2 separate regions of the Homo sapiens genome follow, and region 2 is linked to region 1. Evidence: promoter capture Hi-C in 16 types of primary human blood cells and fetal thymus (Javierre and others, 2016). All regions are on one chromosome and are shown on one strand. Each heading gives the region's core, a stretch centred on a gene start or on the middle of the fragment in contact. The rest is flanking DNA. Distances are from core to core; before and after follow the strand shown.

Evidence for each region. The method cuts DNA at HindIII sites, captures the fragments that hold promoters and counts their contacts. A CHiCAGO score of 5 or more calls a contact.
Region 2: a fragment that was not itself captured here is called in contact with the fragment with the promoter of UBE2E1 in region 1 in 1 of 17 cell types (erythroblasts); the score reaches 5.6 in erythroblasts.

The regions. Positions count from the first base shown.
Region 1 is chr3:23,803,945-23,808,741 of GRCh38, reverse strand. It overlaps UBE2E1 (ubiquitin conjugating enzyme E2 E1), which reads right to left and starts at 2,787. Exons shown (of 6, transcript NM_003341.5): 1 at 2,654-2,787; 2 at 1,321-1,505. The coding sequence starts at 1,472. It overlaps UBE2E1-AS1 (UBE2E1 antisense RNA 1), which reads left to right and starts at 1,837. Exons shown (of 2, transcript NR_046652.1): 1 at 1,837-1,923; 2 at 4,028-4,718. RefSeq lists an enhancer at 1,272-1,361 and silencers at 1,662-1,841, 2,042-2,341, 2,532-2,661, 2,742-2,851. The HindIII fragment of the contact is 12,732 bases long and covers 1-4,797 here.
Region 2 is chr3:22,554,287-22,559,083 of GRCh38, reverse strand. No RefSeq gene overlaps it. Among named protein-coding and RNA genes, the nearest start is that of ZNF385D-AS2, 600 kb to the right of the region's middle. The HindIII fragment of the contact is 1,112 bases long and covers 1,445-2,556 here.

The DNA.
Region 1 (4,797 bases), core at 1,538-4,037:
AGTGAGGGTCAGTCAGGCCTCCTGAGAAGCTGTACAATCAAACCAAACCTATAAAAATGAGAACAATCTTGCAGAGGCACCTTGCCACTTAAGACCTCCACACTATTTTTTAAAAGTCACTCCTTCATCAGCCCATGGTTAGGTCACCAAAACACTGCCAAGTTTTCAAATTACAAGTCAGGGAGAATGACAGAACAAACTCTCAAACCCTGACTTCCAGGCTCACTACTCAGTGGAGAGATCTAAAGTCTCATGTTCTACTTTATTTTAAAAATTTTTAAGAAGGGTATCCCTATCCCATCATTTGGAGTTCTTACTATCTTCCTGGTTTGCCACCTTTTTAACAACTGCCTAACTCTGAGAGCAGAAGGATTTATGAAAGGGTGTCTCAGAGCTCCTAGGAATCCACTAAAGATGATTTTGAGGGTCATGGCGATCAGAGGATATTACTGAAGGATGGCAGGGGTAAAAAGTAGCTACCTCCAGAGGCTTAAGAGGAAAAGAATAAAGAAAAAGGGTGACCGCTTAGGATGGCAGGGATAAAAAGTAGCTACCTTCAGGGCCTTAAGAGGAAAAGAATAAAGTAAAAGGGAGACCACTTAAATTGAAAAAATAAGGCAAAGTAACATTTTCACAGCATGAGGACAGCAAATAGCATGAAAAAAAGACAAGTCTCCCTGAAATTGGTAAACTGAAGTTTTTAAAGAGAACCACAAAAATAACCTAGAATAACCATTTTATAGTCACTTACTGATTCATTCATTTGCCTCAACTCTCAGAAAAATCTCTTTAAATTCCACCAGAAAACATCTGTCTTCACCTACTAAATTTTGTACCTGCTAATATGAGTTTCTTATTCCTTATGCAATTTGTGAAGAAAGCTCTATTTAGAAAAGATCATCCATGCAACAGGTGAGGAGAAGGTAAAATGGTCACAGAATTCATTTTGATGCAGTTCTCTGGGCTGGTATTAGTAATTAAGAAATGGGATCATGGCCTTGGGGAAGGTCACAGATTAACCATTAGTAGGACAAGAAATCTGAAATCAGATTTGGGGGTCACTAATAAAAGTAACGAGGAATCTTACAAACTTCAGCAAGAAATGCGAGAGGCAAGCCGCAACAGCTGCATGTGAGCAATGATTTAAAAACAGAAGCAGCAATAGAGAAAATAATTAGGGCTTCCAAGGCCCTTCTTTCATTTTTAAGAACACATAAACCATGAGGAGCGTTTAAGCTATCCTCATTGGGAGGCAGACCAAATGCAGCAAGAGGCAGTTCGGAAATAGGAAGCCTGTGGAAAAAAAAAAGAGCACAGTACCTCTTGGCGCTGGTGGAGAGGAGTTTGGAGTTTTTGCTCATGCTGACTTTACTCTCCTTCTTCTTGGGGGTGTTTGTTTCTTTCTCGGTTTGCTGGTTGGAAGACGAAGATGAGGAGGAGCTGGTGCTGGCCCTCGAATCGTCATCCGACATAGCGAACCCCCCACCCCACCCCGCAAACAGCCCCTGCAGGGGGAGAGAAACAAAACAGAAACACACAAACCATGCAGCCAGTGTAAATAAGGAACTCGGGTGCTGTCAGGAGGGCATTGACCAGGGGCGCACGCGGCCGCCCACCGCCCTCCACTCGCTTTTCAAAGTCTGCAGGCCCATTAAGGCTTTTGCAAATCGGACGCGGCTTGTTTATTTTTGGCCCCAAGTGGGGAACGCTGTGGGAAAACGGTCTGGAGCTAGGAGAGAGGCCCCTCCCTCGCCCCCCGGGGCTCTCCGCTGGGCAGGGAGGGAGTAGCCCGGGAGGCGAAGGAGGGCAGGGCGGGGGGCGCGGGGCGCCACGGCGGGGCAGGGAGGGAAGGTCCCGGCGGCCGGCCGGCCTCGGGGCTGTTTTTGTCCGCTTTCCGGGGGTCGTGAGGGGCCGGTGGCCCGGGTGAGACTGTGGGGCCACGAGCGGAGTTTGGCGAGGTCGGGAAGAGAGGAGGGGCGGGAAGGAGTAAGAGAGGAAGCCGAAACAGGGGGACGGAGGCGGGGAGCGGGTGCCCGGGTGGGGGAAGGGAGAGGCCGGCGGGGGGCAGGGGCGACGAGGCCCGAGGCCCCCCCGCGCCGCGCCCCGACGCCCCTCCCGGCCTGCCTGCCTCTGGCCGCCCTGCTCACAGCTATGCGGCCGGGCGGGGGTCCGGAGCACACGCCCGATCGCCACTCCTGTAGGGGGATAGGGGCTGCGGCGGGGAATGGGGGGGTCGGCCTCCGCAGCGAAGACATAACAATGAGCCCTTCCGCCCCGGAGGGGTTAATCCCCGCGAACCCCCGCCCCTGGGGAAAACGGGGCTCCCCCAACTCCCTCCCACCCCCGCTCCCGGGCCCCTCGGTGGCCAGTGGGGGGCTCTTGGGGCAGCGCTGACAGTTCGAGCCACAATGACCCCCGTCCTCAATGCGGGCGGCCCCCGCACCCCACGCGGCCCGGGGTCCCTGCCCATCCCCCGCGGGCGGGCCCCGGACCCCTGGGGCTCCCCAGCCCCTCTCCGCTCCCCCCCCGCGCCGGCCCCGTGCCCTGCGGCCCGGCGGCCCCGGCGGCGCGAGTCGGGGGAGGCGGCGAGGGGTGTCCCCGAGGCCCGGCGGCGCGGCCGGGGGGCGGCGGGCCGCTGGGGGGATCCCCGTACCTCTCTTTGTGTCTGGCTCCTCCGTGCCGCCGCGGCGGCTGCTGCTGCGGCTGCGGCTGGGCCTGGCCACTCGTGTCTCTCTCTCGCTGGGAGAGAAGCGGAAGTGCAGCAACAGCAACTATTAAACAGGCAATGGCTTCCCCCAGCCACACACGCTCGCACACACACCACTCCTCCGCCGCCGCCTCCTCCTCCTCCTCCTCCTCGCCCTCACCCCTCCCCCACCCGGCCCGGTCCCACCCACCCGCGCTCCCCTCCCCCTGCAACACCTCCTGGGGGTGCGCGAGGAAGACCCAGGAGACCCCAGGAAACCCTGTCCCCCACAGACACCCCCACCCCAGCGCCTCCTCCGGACGCCCGGGAAGGGGGCGAGGGTTGTGAATTTTCTCTTAAGTGGTTTGGGAACCTGGATTCTGGGCGGGAGAGGGGAAGCCGATGGAGATGGGGGGCGCTGGGAGTGATTGGAACTAGATGGAATAGGGGGGTCACGAGAGAAAGTTCTTTCCAATGAGGGCTTTTGGAAAGGAGAGGAGTAGGGAGGTGGCAAATTGGTGAAAACGTTGGTAATCTGGTGGTGGCAAAGACTTTAGAGAATGCAGCGGGTACTCCACCTAAAAAGCGATTAAAGAGAAAAAAAAAATCACACAACAAGGGTTTTCTTTGGACTGACACTTGCTTCTCCTTCTAGCAATTTACCTGCTAGGAGCAGAGGTCAGTTTAGGTATGCCTGTGAGAAAATCCCAAACTAGGAATTTTCTGCTCAGGTCACGCGAGGCACGTGCAGTTTTACAATATTAGATTCTTCCACTCACTTTTTATAGAAAGTGATGTGGTTTTTTATAAGAGTGATACAAAGGTTTTGGTGACAGGTAAAACCAACGTGTAACGGGCTTGCGAATGTGAGACATCACTGGGAATAAGCTATATACTACTGAATTAGACTGGATTTAGAATTTTTTGTGTCATTTTACATTAGATGTAAGGTTTGGTTTTTGGAAATTGGATGCAAAGTTCTGGGGATCGCAGAATCCCCAGATCGCTAAATTGACCAAATTATTTTTAAAATATTAAGCCATTTTTCTCTTTCTTTAGCTACCTATAAATGCTATGCAAATAATATTTTTGAAATGATCAGCAATTCTTCTGAATTGTTCCTTATTTAGCATTTTTGCCAATTTTTTTTTAATATTAAGCCATCAAATTACGATTCAGTTTCTCACCTTTTGTCATTTCAGTTGAAGGGAACTAAAGAGATGTGTGCCATTCAAATACAACAGTGCCACACATACAAGGTCTTGTACATTAAGGAGACAGCCTCAGATTTCCATAGGTCACTCTAAATTATCTCATTCAAACTGCCATCATTTTCCACAGCAACAGTGGCTTCAGTTACCACAGGACAACACAAGATATACAGCCCATGGCATATCCAGTAACCAGGAAAACAAGCATTCTCACGACCCAGCCGAACTCCTTCTAACCATCAACCTGAAATTCCAGCTTTATCAAGACTCATAAAGTAATTGTGCATGCTTCTTGCTCAATCCCTACCAGGAAACCTGTATCTACCAGGAGTTGTCATAGAATAAGAAGTTCAAAAGCTGGAAGAAATCTTCAGGGTCATAATTTCAGCCTCCTGCTTCCAGACAGAACTATTTCTCCACCACTGAAATGCATATAGATTTTGAAAAAATTTCCAGACATAACCTTTCTTAAGTGTTTGGTTTCAGGAGTCCTGGTAGAGTATATAAAAATGATGACATTCTTTGCTATATATTTGAAAAAATTTTTTAAACTTCTGAAAAACTGATTGTATTCTTTTTGTTCTGATGAAAAGATGTAAATTCAGAAGAAAACAATAAGAAGATGAAATAAACTCAGGATGAGGAAAATAATCTAAAAATAGTTATTAAAATTGAAATTTCCTCCTATGAAAATTTGGATTTCTGATACTTAAAAATATATGTCTACATTATGAATACAACCAGTAAAAAAATCATGTGTTATAAAGACAAGAACTAGCAGAGATCACAGGAAAATAAAAGGTTTGATTTGCTGAAGTGATCAGGACAGTAGGTGAATTTTTTCTTTAATATTGGTTTGCATAAATTGCCTACCAGCTATAATAAGAATTCTTTTGTAAC
Region 2 (4,797 bases), core at 751-3,250, 1.2 Mb after region 1:
ACTTATCCTTATTTGTAGCAATACAGGCATGCTTCATCATGTCAAGAAACTTTGTACTACATTCAAATTTTACCTCATACATTTATACATTCGTCTATTCAATTATTTTATTTTCAAATGTTTGCTGTGGATATGATGGTGAACAAGAGACATAATGTGTCTGTCCTCATGGAGCTTACATTTTATTAGGGGAAGATAGATATTATACATGGAATAGGTAAGCAAATCTGGCAATGTCAGAGAGGGAAAGTTTCTATGAAGGCAATAAAGTAGGAATAGCAACAGAGAAGGGGAGAACTATTCTCCAGAATGCTGGCATTGCTTATTTTACTTGTATCTATATCTAGGAGAATACTGAAAAGTTTTCTGTTAGCTAAAGTATGGTTTTCATGCTTAGTTCTTTTTTAAAAAAATCTTCAACAGTTCTTACTTTTCCATTTCAATAAGAATTTCAATGCTAAAATTTTTGGATCCAATAATTCAAACCACGAAAGAAACTTTTAGTTCTAGGATATGTGTAATGTGTGTAATGTTTGTCACAGTTTCAGTGATACTTATTATAGCATAAAGTTTCAAGATCTTGACCAAACTTAGGGCAGAGTTTTTTCCAAATTCCTTTATGATTGAACTATGGCTGAATATGATACTAGGCCTGCCAAGTTCTGTTGTTTGGTGAGAAAATTTTGTGGTATCAGTGTCACCAAGACTGTTTCAACTGTCTAGTATACAGGTATAGGAATTTACATCATCTGATTCTAGAACAATAGAATAAAAAGTTTTCCTATTTCCTACATTAGCAAAACAGCTTTCTTATCATCATTGGTTCTATGGGCCTAGCACTATCATGGGCTTCAAGCATCTCTTTGCTTGCCTTGAAGGAGAGCACTCACTGTGCAATGGGACCATTTTATCTCACAGAGTAGATTTAGAATCTTTTATTCTTGATTCTTGTTGACTCAAACCATCAAGAATTAATTTCCCAAATAAAAGATTTCATTGACTTTTTTTGGTTTTTAATTTTATGGGCCATGCATGTGCTGTCCATTTCAAGTACAGCAAAGCAAAGGAAATTCACAAATTGAAGAAGATCTACAAAATTAAAAAGTAATTATGAAATAAATGTTTGCATTGTATATACATGGTTGTAGATTGGCTTATGTGTCCCAATATGGAAAACATACTTAAGTAGCAATCTTTTGGCAATGGTATATGTGAGTTTTGGTGAGTACTGCAGTTTTAAGTTAGAAGGGTTATAAATATAGGGGTCACATGTCAAGCTGTTTTAAGGCAGATACTCTCTATTTAACATGATCTAAACTTCAGGTTAAAAGAATCTGCACCCATAACAAAATATTTATAGTCTCAGATTCCTAAGAGAATAAATGATATCTTTTGGTTCTCTGACCCCACCTTCTCAGATAGCTTCTTGAAGAAAGCAGAAGCTTACTCATTAAAAAGTAAGTGCCATGAAGTAGCAAATTTGGAGGTGGAAATTAGGAAGAAATATCCTTGGGTCCTGAAAGATATGGAAATAGATTTAAAACACATTATTGAGAAAACTAGGAATAGGGAGAAGGGGTGAAATTCTATTTGTTCTTTTTCAATTTGAATTTAAGTGATTCATGTATTACTTGTATTGAAAGGAGAGAATAGAAGTATCAAGTTGTTTTCCCTTATGTTTTTCTGCAGGTTGTGAAAAACAAACTATTAGAATATTAGAATTAACAGGAATTACAATCCTCATCTCCACCTCCGCATTTCGTAGATGGGAAAAGAGAGGTGCAGCCATGAGGTGACCTACCAAGGTCACAGAGCTAGCTTGACACAGCTAGGTTCCTCCACTGTCTCCCCTTCTCTGGCTGCAGGGAAGAGTTCAGCCTGGGTAAGACAGCCTCACTCTTCCATTTTTCAGCCTGAGTAATGAGGAGGGTGGAGATGGAAATGGCTATATCTGTGACGTGAATGTTGTTTTCACTGCCTCTATACAAGTGAGTTATTTTCATTCCTTCCTGATGTCCTTGATTTTTAATTGTAAAATGAGTGACACTTTGAACTCCCTTATAGTTTGGCTTTATTTTCTGCTACCACCAGTATGTACAAATTGTACAAATTGGAATCTTTCTCAGAGTATCTGAAGCTCTACTTTCTATCAGAAAAAGAAAAGCTGACAGGCAGTTTAGATGTATCTTTTCCTTTTTCTTTTGTGAGCGTCTTGTTGCACTGCAGGTCAATTGTCAGAAATATTTATTTAGCTGAAGTTCTCTTTCTGAGCCGACTGAGGCAAAAAGTGGTTGATTGAAAAGTCAGTGTACATGGGTTCACCACTCTGCAATCAACAGGACAATCAAAGGTGCTGGAGTGTTTTTTTTTCCAGGTTCAGGTTGCACTGCATCATGCTTGTACATACGATGCTCAGCATTTGAAGTTTAAATATTGCTGGGACTAAGAAGCCACATAAATATGACCTGAACTCTGATTGCCACCAAATTGGAATGGCATGTCTAAAGATTTTAGAGTCAGCCTTGAGTTTTGTGGCTTTACAAATTTGTAGAAGCTTTGCGAGTGTAAATAAAACTTGGAGTTTCACTCAAAATCCTGAGGAATGAATACATATATGCATAGACATACACACTTCATTGTAGCAAGCCGCTGAGGAAAACTGACAGTGCCTTGCGCTTAGAGAAGATAAAGGAGAAACACATGTACGTTGCAAGTCACAATTAAAATTCAGGAGCAGAAAAGAATTTACTTTCTATCTTTTCTGACCGTTAGTTGGAGGTTGGTTGGTTGAGGTTTTTGGCCTGTGTACAGACTTGTTATCTGAGGGTACAGTGCAGGAAAACTCATTTAGTCATCATCATCATCACCAAAATCACCACTGCCATTCTGCCACCAAATACCCGTTGCTGATTTGAGAACCTGCCACATAAGGGCATAGCACAAACAGCATGAATTGGCAGAAAGAGCTTATTCTTCTTTAAATTTTCATGGCTGGGCAATTGGCTAAGTTGCAATTTTCAAGTGACCTTCTCTCACTAAACCATATGCACACATACTCGGTCATGTAACAGCAGTCCTTTTTGAACATCTACTGTTTGTCAAGCACTTACAGGCACTAGGCATCTCTACTGTTGAATGTGATAGACATGCTCCATGCTCTTGTGGAGCTTAGAGGAGATGATAAAACAATTTTAAAGTGCTAAGTGCTCTGAGCTTGTGCAGTCCAGAAAATGTCACCAAGGAGAGAATACTTGAGCTGAGTCTGCAGGGCTTAGGCAGCATCATGTGAATATCTGGGGCAAGTCTTGCAAGGCAGAGGGAAAAGCAAGAGACAGAGCTTTAAAATAGAAATAAGCTTGAAGTATTTGAAGAACATAAAGAAGGCTAGTATAGTGGGACTATTGAAAGCAAGGAAGTAGATGGAAGAAAATGAGATTAGAGAGGTATGGGAGGGCTTGGTCTGGCTGGGCTACATAGAGAATAGTGAGGGTTCATGCTGGCACACCCCTGGAGGGTTTAAGCAGGGGGTGAGATCGGACTGCGTTTTAGAAATGTAAGGAATAGATTGATTGCAAAGTGGATGATAATGTGTGTTTCGTGAGGAAGGGATTTGTATCTGTTTCATTCACTGCTGTATCTCCAGCCCTGGAACAGTGCCTGGCAAATAAGAGGTGTGTGAGAAGTACCTGTTGAATGTACAGATAGGTATGTGTGTGTGTTCTTATGATTTTTTTTGTATTTTATTTTATTTTTAATTTTATTATTATACTTTAAGTTTTAGGGTACATGTGCACAACGTGAAGGTTTGTTACATATGTATACATGTGCCATGTTGGTGTGCTGCACCCATTAACTCGTCATTTAGCATTAGGTATATCTCCTAATGCTATCCCTCCCTCCTCCCCCCACCCCACAACAGTCCCCAGTGTGTGATGTTCCCCTTCCTGTGTCCATGTGTTCTCATTGTTCATTTCTCACCTATGAGTGAGAACATGTGGTGTTTGGTTTTTTGTCCTTGCGATAGTTTGCTGAGAATGATGGTTTCCAGTTTCATCCATGTCCCTACAAAGGACATGAACTCATCCTTTTGTATGGCTGCATAGTATTCCATGGTGTATATGTGCCACATTTTCTTCATCCAGTCTATCGTTGTTGGACATTTAGGTTGGTTCCAAGTCTTTGCTATTGTGAATAGTGCCGCAATAAACATATGTGTACATGTGTCTTTATAGCAGCATGATTTATAATCCTTTCGGTATATACCCAGTAATGGGATGGCTGGGTCAAATGGTATTTCTAGTTCAAGATCCCTGAGGAATTGCCACACTGACTTCCACAATGGTTGAACTAGTTTACAGTCCCACCAACAGTGTAAAAGTGTTCCTATTTCTCCACATCCTCTCCAGCACCGTTGTTTCCTGACTTTTTAATGATTGCCATTCTAACTGGTGTGAGATGGTATCTCATTGTGGTTTTGATTTGCATTTCTCTGATGACCAGGGATGATGAGCATTTTTTCCTGTGTTTTTTTTGGCTGCATAAATGTCTTCTTTTGAGAGGTGTCTATTCATATCCTTCGCCCACTTTTTGATGGAGTTGTTTGTTTTTTTCTTTTAAATTTGTTTGAGTTCATTGTAGATTCTGGATATTAGTCCTTTGTCAGATGAGTAGGTTGCAAAAATTTTCTCCCATTATGTAGGTTGCCTGTTCACTCTGATGGTAGTTTCTTTTGCTGTGCAGAAGCTCTTTAGTTTAATTAGATCCCATTTGTCAATTTTGGCTTTTGTTGCCATTGTT